Linked DNA regions of Homo sapiens: all the other regions are linked to region 1. The links are contacts of gene promoters, found by promoter capture Hi-C in blood cells and fetal thymus (Javierre and others, 2016). All regions are on one chromosome and are shown on one strand. The core of a region is centred on a gene start or on the middle of the fragment in contact, and the rest is flanking DNA. Distances in the headings are between cores, read along the strand shown. Region 1 holds the start of LSM7 (LSM7 homolog, U6 small nuclear RNA and mRNA degradation associated). Region 2 holds the start of ABHD17A (abhydrolase domain containing 17A, depalmitoylase). Region 3 has its middle 8.4 kb from the start of CSNK1G2. Region 4 overlaps BTBD2 (BTB domain containing 2). Region 5 overlaps GNG7 (G protein subunit gamma 7).

Region 1 (2,601 bases), core at 44-2,543:
TCAGGGTAAGAGAAAAGACTAGAGAGTGAAGCGACTGCAATGAGCTGCAGGCTTCCCCAGCAGCCAGGTCACAACTGGACGGCGCACTCATCTGGATGCGACACGGTCTGACATACTTTGAAAGGGTCACCCCTGCTGTGTCGAGGATGGACTGGGGATGTGGTGGACAAAGGCAGCCACAGCAGAGGGATAGCGGTGGGGCTGGAGGAGTGGAGACTGAGGAGCCAGGTGGCGGCGACGCCTTAAGAGTGAGAACTCTGAGGGGGTAGTGAAGGTTAAGGGCTGCATTTGTGGGGCTGCTCCAGGTTCCATTGCCTGAGCCACCGAACTCAGGAGAGAGGGAAGATTTGGAATTAAGAAAATAAAAGATGCAGTTATGACAGTGCGATCTCGTAGACTGTCCCCACTAGAACCTGACACTCTTTACATCAAATGACACACAATGAACATAATGAAGGCCTGTTGGCCCTGGGCGCTGGTCACCCTGGACAGAACCTCCAGAATCCACACCATAGTCGGTCCTCCTTCTGCACACGAATTCCATCGTCCAAGGTCACGGAGTAAAAGATGGAGCGGGGATCCGACCCCAGTGCAGGGCTGGACTCCTGGCCGCTCCAGGATGCTGCCAGTTACTGGGGGACGCGCGGGACGCCTCTGGGTTCCCCCACCGCACCCCCTAGGGTGAGGTTAGCTTAGCACCGTGCCCGTTCCGCCTAAGGGGAAACTGAGGCTCGGAGAGGGGTGGGCAGCCGCCTGCTCAAGGCCACAGAGCCGGAGAGAGGCGTCCCCGGCGGCAACTGGAGACCCCGAAACGGAGAAGCAGAACCGGAGGATGGAGGGGGCACAAATTTCAGACCCGGTGGGAAGTGAGTGGCGCTGCAGCGGCGGAGGGCCTCCGAGGCGGGGAAAGGAGAGGAGCCGGGGACAGACCCGCAAGGTCACGGCCGAGCCCCGGCACCGCCGGCCGACAACGCGGGGACGGCGGATCCCCGAGGCTGGACCCCCAAGACGGGCCGAGCGGGGTCGTTCCTGCGCGTAGCCCGGGGACAGAGAGGCCGAAGGGCCGCAGCCCGCGGTGCCGTCGGGACCGGTGCCGCGCTCACCTGGGCCGCGAGGAGCAGAAAGGCCGCCAAAAGCCGCGCCAGCGCAGCCGCCACCGCTGCCGCCATGTCGGCCGGTGCCCGCCGCAACCAACGGCAGATGTTTCCCAGCAACGCCCCGAGACCCCGGGCCACGCATGCGCCGCGCATGCGCGTGGGGGAGGTCAAAGGGCGCGGGGCGGTGCCTGCGAAGAGCCACACGGCGCGACAAGATGGCGGTGAGCGCGCGGCGGAATCTGGAGCCGGGGGGCGTGGAGCTCGGGCCGCGCTCCAGGTCTCATGCGCTCTGCTTTCCCCGCAGGATAAGGAGAAGAAGAAAAAGGAGAGCATCTTGGACTTGTCCAAGTACATCGACAAGACGATCCGGGTAAAGTTCCAGGGAGGCCGCGAAGGTGAGGAGGCTCCCGCTGTCGGTACCCCCTCTTTAAAAATTTCAAATAAACCCAGCAACAGAGATGATGAGGACGCATGCGGAAGCACCTCTTTTATTTATTTTCATTATTTTTTTTGAGACGCAGTCTCGCTCTGTCACCCGGGCTGGAGTGCAGTGGTGCGATCTCAGCTCACTGCAACCTCCGCCTCCCAGGTTCAAGTGATTCTTGTGCCTCAGCCTCCCGAGTAGCTGGAATTAATGTGTACCACCACGCCCGGCTAATATTTGTATTTTTAGTAGAGAGGCCATGTTGGCCAGGATGGTCTCAAACTCCTGGCCTCAAGCGATCTGCCTGCCTCAGCCCCCTAAATTGCTGGGATTTCAGGCATGAGCCACCATGCCCAGCCTAGCATTTTTGACTGGGCAAGTGAGCTGCCTTCTCCTAGCCTCCGTTTCCTCATTTGTCAAATGGGGCTGGTAACTCCACCCACTTCACAGGGGGTGGTGAGAATGAATGGTTACAGGCATGTAATGTAATTGAGGCAGCTCTCAGCAGGAAGTAAGCAGTCAGACAACACGTCACTTATTCAATAGCCTCTTGGATCTTTGGTTTCTTTTTTTTGTAAGACGGGGACCCAAACCTCTTTGTCCCTGGATTGTAGACAACTGGGTGGCATGAGAGTTATTAAAAATCACAGTGCCCCAGCCGGACGGGGCGGCTCACGTGTGTAATCCCAGCAATTTGGGAGTCTGAAGCAGGAGGGTGGCTTCACCCTAGGGTTTGAGGCTGCAGTGAGCTATGACCGCACCACTGCACTCCAGCCTGGGCCACAGAGCAAGGCCCAGTCTCAAAAGAGAAAAAGGAGGCCAGGCACAGTGGCTCATGCCTTTAATCTTGACACTTTGGGAGGCCGAGGCAGGCAGATCAGGAGGTCAGGAGATCAAGACCATCCTGGCCTACGTGGTGAAACCCTGTCTCTACTAAAATACAAAAAGTTAGCTGGGCATGGTGGCGCACGCTTGTAGTCCCAGCTACTCGGGGGGCTGAGGCAGGAGAATTGCTTGAACCCCAGAGGCGAGATTGTGCCACCGCACTCCAGCCTGGCGATAGGGCAAGACTCCGTCTCA
Region 2 (2,601 bases), core at 27-2,526, 440 kb after region 1:
ACCGTGTTAGCCAGGATGGTCTTGATCTCCTAACCTCATGATCTGCCCGACTCGGCCTCCCAAAGTGCTGGGATTATAGGCGTGAGCCACCGCGCCCAGCCCATAATGAAATTTTTTTAAGAGACAGGATCTTGCTCTCTCGCCCAGGCTGGAATGCAGTGGAGTGATCATAGTTTTATTTATTTATTTATTTATTTATTTATTTATTTATTTATTTATCTGAGACAGTCTTCTTGCTCTGTCACTTGGGCTGGAGCACAGTGGCCCGATCTTGGCTCACTGCAACCTTCGCCTCCCGGGTTCAAGCGATTCTCCTGCCTCAGCCTCCGGAGTAGCTGGGACTACAGGCGCGTGCCACCATGCCCGGCTAATATTTGTATTTTTAGTAGAGACAGGGTTTCACCACGTTGGTCAGGCTTGGTCTCAAACTCCTGACTTCAGGTGATCTACCTGTTTCAGTCTCCCAAAGTGCTGGGATTACAGGCATGAGCCACCGTGCCCGGCCTAATGTAATATTTTAAAAACTAATGCAAAAGAATTTCTGATGAGCAATATATAAAGACTTTAAATAAGCTGGTCATGGTGGCTTGTGCCTATAGTCCTAGCTACTCAGGAGGCTGAAGTAGGAGGTTCACTTGATCCTGGGAGGTCGAGGCTGCAGTGAGCTATGATGGCACCAGCCTGGGTGACAGAGTAGACTCTATGTTAAAAAAAAGAGGCCAGGTGCGGTGGCTGATGCCTGTAATCCCAACACTTTGGGAGGCTGAGGCAGGAGGATTCTGGGGTCAGGAGTTCGAGGCCACACTGGCCAACATGGGGAAACCCCGTCTCTACTGAAAACACAAAAATTAGCTGGGCATGGTGGTGGGCGCCGGTAATCCCAGCTACTCAGGAGGCTGAGGCAGGAGAATCGCTTGATCCCAGGAGGCAGAAGTTGCAGTGAGCTGAGATCGCGCCATTGTACTCCAGCCTGGGCGACAGAGCGCGACTCCATCTCATAAAGAAAAATATTTTAAAACATTTCTAAATGTTGATGTCTGAGTTTTTTTTGGCGTCCCTGTAAATTTTGTTTTCCAGGCGAGAACTTTACTGGCCTCAACCTATTCCGGGTCCCCAAGTGAATGAAACCTAAGTTTGGCCCCGCCCACAGAGCAGCAGGCCACGCCCCTCGACATATCAGCCCCGCCCCCAGGACGCTAGTCGCGCGGTCGCTCTGTGCCTGCAGACCCCCGCCCCGCGCGCTCCTCGCGTCACTTCCGGGGCGGTGGTGAGAACGAGGCTCACTTCCGTCCGTGGGGGGAGCTGCGGCGGTGGCGGTGCAGGAGGCCGGGCAGGGGTGCGGAGGGACCGACGGACGCACGGGCGGGCGGCCGGGAGCCATGGAGCGCGGCCCTGGGGCCCGGGGGCGCGGGCCGGGGTGGTGAGTGCCGGGCAGGGGCGGGGGCGGGCGCGGCCGCGCGGGGTCCCGGGCCGGGCCTCGAGGGCCTGACAGCCCGGTTGGACGTCCCCGAGACCCCTGCAGTCCCAGGGCTTCCGCGGGTCCTGCCCGAGGAGCCCAGAGCAGGGGCGCGGACCGCGGATGAGCGTCTGTGATTGGGAAAGCCCTGTCCCCATCCATTCAGCCCTCCGGCGTGGGTTGCGCTCCCACCCTCCTGCGGACGCGGCCCTTGCCTTCGGGGAGCACCCGTCCGAGCCGCGGATTCCGCTCTTTTGCCCCGAAACTGCCCCCAGTCCGACAAACGCTTCGGCCTCTCGCCCCCCAAGGCAGCTCCCAGGGGCCCTCCCGAGCCCTGCTTCCCAACCAGCTCCCAGTCGCTGTTTCCCTTGTCAGGCTTCTTCCTGCCACCCTGACTCCTGGGCGGGCTTCCCGGCCTCCGCTCGCGTCCGTTCTCCGGGATGCAGCCCTTCTCCTATGTTGTCCATCGCTTGCTCGGGACTTCTTCGCGGCCCCGCCATTTCTCCCAGGATGAAGTGCAAACTCTCGGGGGCGCGACCTCACCCGTCCCAGGCTCTCTCTTAGGACCCTTCTGCTCACTTCTTCCTCCCAGGGTCTGCTCTAGCCAGGAGCCTGCTCTGTCACCTCGGATTTTGCTCCTGCTTGTCCCTCTGTCCCATCCCCCTGTCACCTGGCCCGTTTGTCTGCCCTCTGATATGGCCGCGCCTCCCCCCAGGCGGGTTTCCCACCCTGACTGGTTGAGTGAGGTGCAGTCACCGTCTCCCATATGTAGGTCATCTTCCAGTATTTTGGCTGCTCGGTTGCTTGCTGGTCCTCAGAACACCTCTAGCTTGCAGAGGGTTGCCCAGTTAAGTGCGTGGGAACGGAATTGGTGGGATTCAGGGTGTCAAGGGTGTGTGCCCAGTGAGTGAGGCGTCTGGGTTTGCACTCCCCAGTCCACGCCCATTAGTGACACTAGGGAGGTTCCAGGTACCTGTGGCTGGAGAGGAGAGGAGACTAGACTTTCCCTTCCCTGTCAAAGCTGGCGGACCTTGGGGATTCTTTTCCTCCTGTGCTTCCTCCTTAATTCTGTGCTGCCTACCACCTGCCCATTCCTTTAGTGAGTGGCAGGTCATGGTCCTGCTCTCATAGAGTTTCTGGTTTGG
Region 3 (2,601 bases), core at 50-2,549, 400 kb after region 1:
TGTGTGCCTGTGTTTGGCATGCCTGTGTGTGGTGTGTGTTGGTTTGTGTATTGTGTGTGTGAGCATGTGAGTGCCTGCATGGGGGGTATTCAGGAACGCTGCTGTGAATGGCATCGCTCAGCGTCAGGGAACCGTCTTGCTCCAGGTTTTGGGCTGTTTCATGGAGGCTGGGGGATGTTCTTGTTGATGATGCAGCCCACTTGGACTTAACTTATTTTTGGTCATATTGCACCTAAATGGTCCTCCTGGCATTCACTCTGTTCATTTGCCCCTGGTGCCTGGGGACTCCTCCCATGGTGGTGACCAGGGTCTCTCCCACATCTCTTGTCACCAAGGCCAGCCACAGAGGGCAGCCTGCAGTGGACAGGGTGCAGGACAGGGCAACAATGACCATGATGCTTCATGGAAGATGTGAGCTCCCCCCAGGGAGCCTCCCATCCAGAGCCCCCACCCCTCAGCTCGATGGAATGCCCAGCCCCTTGGTGCTGCAACCCCAGTAGGAGGGTGGCATCCTGGACCCAGGCAACAGGGATGCTGCATGCCACAAACACTGAGACACAAAGAAGAAGTGGTTCAAAAGCTGGGTGTGATGGTCACAGATTCTTTGCTGCTCCTCCCACGGAAAGACACAGTTCATTTCCCCTCCCCTGAATGTAGCTGCTCCTGTGACCTGTTTTAGCAACAGAAGGCAGGGGAAGTGGTGCCTTGAGACTTCTGAGGGAGGGTCTTACGAGCTCGACAGTAGGCTGGGCATGGTGCTTACACCTGTCATCCCAGCACTTGGGGAGGCCGAGGCGGGCAGATCACCCGAGGTCAGGAGTTTGAGACCAGCCTAGCCAGCACGGTGAAACCCTGTCTCTACTAAAAATACAAAATTAGCTGGGCGTGGTGGTGGGCACCTGTAATCCCAGCTACTCGGGAAGCTGAGGCAGTAGAATCACTTGAACCTGGGAGGTGGAGGTTGCAGTGAGCCGAGACTGCGCCATTACACTCCAGCCTGGGTGACAGAGTGAGACTGTGTCTCAAAAAAAAAAAAAAAAAAAAAAGAACTCAACAGCGTCCTTTCTGCTTGGAACCCAGCTGCCATCTTGTGAGGCAGCCACCTGGAAGCCCCTGGGTGATGGCACCACTGAGCAGGCACCACCTGCCAGCCCTGTGAGTGAGCTACCTCAAACATTCCCGGCCAGGGAAAGCCACTAAATGATTGCTGATTACCCCCCATCACCACAGGGAGCAGAACTGCCCAGCTGAGCCCGGACACCCCGCATCATGTCAGATATAATCCACTGCCATTCTACCTTAGCCACCCCAAATCCCTAGGGCTGAATGAGGTCATCAAATAATGATTCCTCTCCCACTTTCTCCCCTCTGCTAGTCCCTGGCAGACTGGAGGATGGCCCAGAGGCAGCCAGGTGAGGGGTGACGCCCTTCAAGGCCCTGCTCCAGTGGTCCTCACCAACTACAACCGCCCTGCAGAGCCCCGCTGTGCCCTGCACCTGCTCCCCGGCCCTCATGCCGCTGCCAGGAGTGTCTGTGCTCATCTGTCTTCTCTCCCCTCCAGCCTGAGAAAGCTCCTTCTTCCCACCCCTTACCAGAAATATAAATTGGCCGGGCGCGGTGGCTCATGCCTGTAATCTCAGCACTTTGGGAGGCTGAGGCAGGCAGATCACGAGGTCAGGAGATCGAGGCCATCCTGGCTAACATGGTGAAACCCCGTCTCTACTAAAAATACAAAAAATTAGCCAGGCATGGTGGCGGGCGCCAGTAGTCTCAGGTACTTGGGAGGCTGAGGCAGGAGAATGGCGTGAACCCAGGAGGCAGAGCTTGCAGTGAGCCAAGATGGTGCCGCTGCACTCCAGCCTGGGTGACAGAGTGAGACTCCGTCTCAAAACAAAAAAAAAGAAAAAAAGAAATATAAATTTACTCCTTGCCCCTTCTGTGTTTCAAAGGAGGGTGGCTTTTCAAAGTCCCCACAATGGGGACAGCATTCGAGGCTGCCTCAATGGCTGGTTCCACTTCGCAGCCCCATCTATCCATCAGGACGCCCTCTGCACCCATACTGACTTGTTCCTTTCCAACCCACCCTGACCCTCCACCCATCTGAGCCTTGTCTGGCTTCTCTCAGCCCAACAGGTCTGGCAAAGCTCAGGCAGATGATCACCTCTTTTGGGAGGACTCCATGATACATCAGGCCAAATGAATCCAACCCACCAGCCTCTGGAACTGCTTTCGTCCATGTACTTATGTGTTCTGCCTTCCATGATGGATATTCATGGTCTGTCTGCCCCACTAGGCAGCAGCTCCTGAGGACAGGAACTAAACCTCTTTAAAATGCCTTCAAAAACCCTGCCATGCACCCTGATACAGCCCTAGTTAGTGTACATATTATTATCAGGTTTCTGAAGATAATCCAGGAACACCTATTGTATCAGTCAGCTACTGCTGCATAACAAATTATACCAAACTCAGTGGCCTAAAACAACACATGTCTTTGTGATATGACTGGTGAAATAAATTAAGCAAAAACAAATTATTATTTTTTTTAATAAAAAAGAAGAGGCTGGGAGCCATGGCTCATGCCTGTAATCCCAGCACTTTGGG
Region 4 (2,601 bases), core at 1-2,500, 340 kb after region 1:
TCCACCTCCATGGAACCCTGGCTGAACCCCCGGCCCTGGTCCCTGTGCTGCCCCCACCCTGGGCAGGTGGGCTGGGCCTCGAGGGGTCCCCGTTGGCCCTCCCCAGGCCTGAGCCTCCCACTTCCCACCTCCCCGCAGATTATTCACACCGATAGCAACACCGTCTTGGGCCAGAACGACACGGGCTTCAGCTGCGACGGCTCAGCCAGCACCTTCCGCGTCATGTTCAAGGAGCCGGTGGAGGTGCTGCCCAACGTCAACTACACGGCCTGTGCCACGCTCAAGGTGCGCCGCCGGGGACAGGGGTCCCTCCGTGGGAGTCTCTGGCCCATCCTGAAGCCACCGGGGCACAGCACACACTCTCCAGAGGCAGCCACCCTGGCCCAGTCGGGGCCTTGCCCTGTCCACACCTGGGGCATCCCAGCCTGGTGGTCCTTGACCTCACTGTACCCCTATTCCCTACAGGGCCCAGACTCCCACTACGGCACCAAAGGCCTGCGCAAGGTGACACACGAGTCGCCCACCACGGGCGCCAAGACCTGCTTCACCTTTTGCTACGCGGCCGGGAACAACAATGGCACATCCGTGGAGGACGGCCAGATCCCCGAGGTCATCTTCTACACCTAGGCTGCCCGACACCGACACCGCCCTCCCTCCGTGGGGATAGCCGCAGCCCCAGGCCATCATCTGCTGCTGGGGCCCCCCCACCACGCGGTGCCAGGCCCAGTGTCCCCCAGGCCGTCTGTCCACTCCATGCCACCTTTCTCAGCATCAGGACGGGGTTGCCCTGTGTTCACCACGAGTGTGGCTGCTGGATCAGGGCAGCCGGGGAGGTGGCCAGGCCAGTGGCCAGGCCCTGTGGAGACAATCCCTCAGGACTAGGGACAGGGCTGTGCCGGCCTGGGCCAGGGCCCACGGACCCGCAGCTCAGGGCGCCTGCCCACGTCGTCTGCCGGCGGTGCGCCGCGGGCGTCCCTCGCGTCTCTTCACTGCACATTGCAATGCATTTGCGATTCCCATTTCTCTGCTAGGAGCCAGCCTGGGTGGCGCTGCTCCCAGAGCCGTGGGTCCCAGACCTTGCGTTCCTTTTGTTCCTGTCCGTTTATCAGGACACGGGCCCCACCTGTCACGTGCCCGAGGCCACCCAAGCCCAGCCTGCGGGGCGTTCCCACTGCCTGGATGCCGGCTTGAGTTCTGCGCACGCAGGATTCAGTGTGGGGACGGCCCCTGCCGGATAGGCCTAGCCCTGGCCCAGGTGGTGAGCGGTTTGCAGTGTCCGTTCTCATCCACCTGATGGGCCCAGATAAAGGCCCCCGCTGTCCAGCCTCCCTGGACGGCCCTCGCGGTCCCTGCAGCCCAAGATGGGACTCAGACCCTGTGCCCCAGAGCTCCCCTGCCGCAGAATGGGGCCCCAGCCGGCCCCGACCGGGTCCAGGAGCACTGCTCGCCTGTACATACTGTTGCCCTAGCCCACCTGGTGCCGTGGGAGCCACCCCCAGGTGCTGGGGGCACAGCCCCTCCCCACTCCGGCCACGCCCCCACCCACCCCGCGTGTTTCTGCCCTGTGACTCCTGGAACCTGCGTCCTCCCCAAAGCCATGGGAGGGGTGTCCTCCTCAGACCATGCCCCCAGATGATTTTTTTAAATAAAGAAACAAATGCACCTGCCTTGAGCGCACACTGCTTTGCTCCCCTTCACTCTCTGCCCTGTCATCCGGGCTGCAGTGGGCGAGGGATGTCGTGCGCCGAGAGGGGCCCTGAACCCCGGGTCTGGTCGCCAGTGCTGCGAGACCCTCCTTAAGTACCCACAGGCCACACTGAAGCCCGGGAGGTCGAGACTGCAGTGAGCAGTGATGCACCACTGCCCTCCCCCCTGGGCAAGAGCAAGACCCTAACTAACTCAACACCTCCCCCCAAACCCAAATGCAATGGACGTGTGTGCCGATTTCCCCGTGGGGAGGCCCTGCTGGCTGCTGGGGGACCGTGGATGTGAGAGATGGAGAGAAAGCAGGGAGTGCCCAGTTGTGGCCTCAGTGGCCAGAGAAGTCAAGCCGTTGGCTGCTGCCTCAGGAGCACACGTGCAGGGCAAGACATCAAGAAACCCGGCAGCAAGGCCGCGTGGTGGCTCACACGTCATTACAGCACCTTGGGAGGCCGGGCGGGTGGATCACCTGAGGTCAGGAGTTCAGGACCAACCTGGCCGACATGGTGAAACCCCATCTCTACTAAAAACACAAAAATTAGCCAGGTATGGTGGCAGGCACCTGTAATCCCAGCTACTTGGGAGGCTGAGGCAGGCGAATCGCTTGAACCTGGGAGATGGAGGTTGCAGTGAGCCAAGATGGTGCCATTGCACTCCAGCCTGGGCGAGAAAGCAAGACTCCGTCTAAAAAAAAAAAAGCCAGCCGCAAACAGTTGCCAGGAGGCTGAAGGCTGAGCAGATCTCCACAGTGCGCAGTGCTGGGAGCAGGCAATGGAGATGGAGGCTGGCGGGGTAGGGGGCCTTGTCGAACACCCTGGGGGCCGGGCGTGCTGGCTCACACCTGCAATCCCAGCACTTTGGCAGGCTGAGGCAGAACTGCTAGGGGCCAGGAGTTTGAGA
Region 5 (2,601 bases), core at 42-2,541, 270 kb before region 1:
ACAGTTGTCCTGGTCATTGTCGTCTAACCACTGAAACTCCCTAGACTTTTCCTACACATGCACACTCACATAGATACGTACAGCAATATGGAGCGCATTGTACATTGGCAGTCCTGAGCTGCTTTTTACCTTTCTAAATTTAATTTCTTTTTTTTTTTTTTTTTTGAAACAGAGTCTCACTCTGTTGCCCAGGCTGGAGTGCAGTGGCGCAATCTCGGCTCACTGCAAGCTCTGCCTCCTGGGTTCACGCCATTCTCCTGCCTCAGCCTCCCGAGTAGCTGGCACTACAGGCGCCCGCCACCACGCCTGGCTAATTTTTTGTATTTTTAGTAGAGACGGGGTTTCACCGTGTTAGCCAGGATGGTCTCGATCTGCTGACCTCGTGATCCACCCACCTCGGCCTCCCAAAGTGCTGGGATTACAGGTGTGAGCCACCACACTCGGCCTTATTATTATTATTTTTGAGAAGGAGTTTTGCTCTTGTCACCCAGGCTGGAGTGCAGTGGCGTGATCTCGGCTCACTGCAACCTCCACCTCCTGGGTTCAAGCGATTCTCCTGCCTCAGCCTCCTGAGTAGCTAAGATTACAGGTGCCCGCCACCACGCCCAGCTAATTTTTGTATTTTTAGTAGACACGGGGTTTCACCATGTTGGCCAGGCTGGTCTCAAACTCCTGACCTTAGGTGATCCGCCTGCCTCGGCCTCCCACAGTGTTAGGATTACAGGCGTGAGCCACTGTGACTGGCCCCAAGTAGCATTATTATATAATGGAGTTTTTGTTTGTTTTTATCTTAGAGACAGGATCTTCTTTCTCTGTCACTCAAGCTGGAGTGCAGTAACGCCATCTCAGCTCCCTGCAGCAGCTTCCAACTCCCAGGCTCAAGCAATCCTCCCGCCTCAGTCACCAAAGCTGGGATAACAGGTGCACACCACCATGCCTGGATAATTTTTAAATTTTTATTCTTTCTAGAGATTGGGTCTTGCTATGTTGTCCAGGATGATCTTGAACTCCTGGCCTCAAGTGATCTTCCCACCTCAGCCTCCAAAAGTGCTGGGATTGCAGGTGTGAGCCACCGAGCCCAGCCTATACCTGTGAAATTTCAATATCATAGATAGACTGTGTATCTGTTTATGTTCTGTTTTCTGGGCTTAATCCATAAAAAAAGTAAAATTTGTTTTCATCTCCCCAAGAATTGATGTTCACCCTGTTGAGAATATATTTGTAAAGAAGTCTCGTACTGCAGGAGTGAGAATGGAGACATCTTCATCACAAATCTCACTCCCCAGAATTAACCACTGTTAACAGTGTGGGGTGGATGGGAACTGATCATCAGTGCAGAACGTGAAAGGAGAACAACTGGGTCGATATTTGCCCACTTTTTTTTTTGGGGGGGGGACAGGGTCTCACTTTGTCACCCAGGCTGGAGTGCAGTGGCATAATCATGGCTCACTACAGCCTCAACCTCTTGGACTCAAGCGATCCTCCCACCTCAACCTCCTGAGTAGCTGGGACCACAGGTGGATATCACTACACCTGCTTAATTTTTTTTTAATTTTAATTGAGACGGGGTCTCACTATGTTACCCAGGCTGGTCTGAAACTCCTGGGCTCAAGTGATTTTCCTGCCTCAGCCTTTCAAAGTGCTGGGATTGCAGGTGTGAGCCCCGCGCTGGGCCTGCCTACTATTTTTTATTTTAATTTTAGGGACCGACTCTCACTCTGTCGCCCAGGCTGCAGTGCAGAGGCACGATCTCAGCTCACTGCAACCTCCACCTCCTGGGTTCAAGCGATTCTCCTGTCTCAGCCTCCCAAGTAGCTGGGATTACAGGCATGCACCACCGCACCCGGCTAATTTTTGTATTTTCAGTAGAGATGGGGTTTCACCATGTTGGCCATGCTGGTCCCAAACTCCTGACCTCAGGTGATCCGCCCGCCTCGGCCTCTCAAAGTGCTGAGATTACAGATATGAGCCACCGCGCCCGGCCGCCCACTAGTTTTGATTGTGAGTTCTTCTGGTCCTTGGTTTTCGTAAGCGTTGCTTCCTCCTCTGTAGTAGAGTAACAAGCATGCAGCGTAGAGTCGCCGTGAGAGCTGGATTCGGTCGTTGATGGACAGAGCCGAGTGGAGAGCCTGAGATGACTCAGTGCCACACAGGTGCTGCTCACACAGTTGTCCTGGTCATTGTCGTCTAACCACTGAAACTCCCTAGACTTTTCCTACACATGCACACTCACATAGATACGTACAGCCATATGGAGTGCATTGTACATTGGCGGTCCTGAGCTGCTTTTTACCTTTTTAAATTTAATTTCTTTTTTTTTTTTTTTGAGACAGAGTCTCACTCTGTTGCCCAGGCTGGAGTGCAGTGGTGCGATCTTGGCTCGCTGCAAGCTCCGCCTCCCGGGTTCACGCCATTCTCCTGCCTCAGCCTCCCGAGTAGCTGGGATTACAGGCACCCGCCACCACGCCCGGCTAATTTTTTGTATTTTTACTAGAGACGGAGTTTTGCTATGTTGCCCAGGCTGGTCTCAAACTCCTGAGCTCAGGCAATCCACCCGCCTCGGCCTCCCAAAGTGCTGGGATTACAGGCATGAGCCACTGC

The links. The method cuts DNA at HindIII sites, captures the fragments that hold promoters and counts their contacts. A CHiCAGO score of 5 or more calls a contact.
Region 2: a contact is called between the fragment with the promoter of ABHD17A here and the fragment with the promoter of LSM7 in region 1, in 4 of 17 cell types (neutrophils, activated CD4 T cells, monocytes and 1 more). The highest score is 12.1, in neutrophils.
Region 3: a fragment that was not itself captured here is called in contact with the fragment with the promoter of LSM7 in region 1 in 1 of 17 cell types (neutrophils); the score reaches 5.2 in neutrophils.
Region 4: a fragment that was not itself captured here is called in contact with the fragment with the promoter of LSM7 in region 1 in 2 of 17 cell types (neutrophils and monocytes); the score reaches 5.7 in neutrophils.
Region 5: a fragment that was not itself captured here is called in contact with the fragment with the promoter of LSM7 in region 1 in 2 of 17 cell types (total B cells and M2 macrophages); the score reaches 6.1 in total B cells.

The regions. Positions count from the first base shown.
Region 1 is chr19:2,327,278-2,329,878 of GRCh38, reverse strand. It overlaps LSM7 (LSM7 homolog, U6 small nuclear RNA and mRNA degradation associated), which reads left to right and starts at 1,293. Exons shown (of 4, transcript NM_016199.3): 1 at 1,293-1,318; 2 at 1,402-1,492. The coding sequence starts at 1,313. It overlaps SPPL2B (signal peptide peptidase like 2B), which reads right to left and starts at 1,195. Exons shown (of 15, transcript NM_152988.3): 1 at 1,104-1,195. The coding sequence starts at 1,169. RefSeq lists silencers at 909-1,168, 2,189-2,288 and enhancers at 1,379-1,428, 1,439-1,488, 924-1,578, 1,859-1,918. The HindIII fragment of the contact is 4,029 bases long and covers 1-2,601 here.
Region 2 is chr19:1,884,171-1,886,771 of GRCh38, reverse strand. ABHD17A (abhydrolase domain containing 17A, depalmitoylase) reads left to right here and starts at 1,276. Exons shown (of 5, transcript NM_001130111.2): 1 at 1,276-1,420. RefSeq lists a silencer at 1,864-2,011. The HindIII fragment of the contact is 20,961 bases long and covers 1-2,601 here.
Region 3 is chr19:1,931,463-1,934,063 of GRCh38, reverse strand. No RefSeq gene overlaps it. Among named protein-coding and RNA genes, the nearest start is that of CSNK1G2, 8.4 kb to the left of the region's middle. The HindIII fragment of the contact is 7,321 bases long and covers 1-2,601 here.
Region 4 is chr19:1,984,514-1,987,114 of GRCh38, reverse strand. BTBD2 (BTB domain containing 2) reads left to right here. Exons shown (of 9, transcript NM_017797.4): 8 at 139-285; 9 at 466-1,667. The coding sequence ends at 627. Among named protein-coding and RNA genes, the nearest start is that of BTBD2, 30 kb to the left of the region's middle. The HindIII fragment of the contact is 8,980 bases long and covers 1-2,601 here.
Region 5 is chr19:2,595,460-2,598,060 of GRCh38, reverse strand. All of the region lies in intron 2 of GNG7 (G protein subunit gamma 7), which reads left to right. Among named protein-coding and RNA genes, the nearest start is that of MIR7850, 34 kb to the left of the region's middle. The HindIII fragment of the contact is 4,165 bases long and covers 1-2,601 here.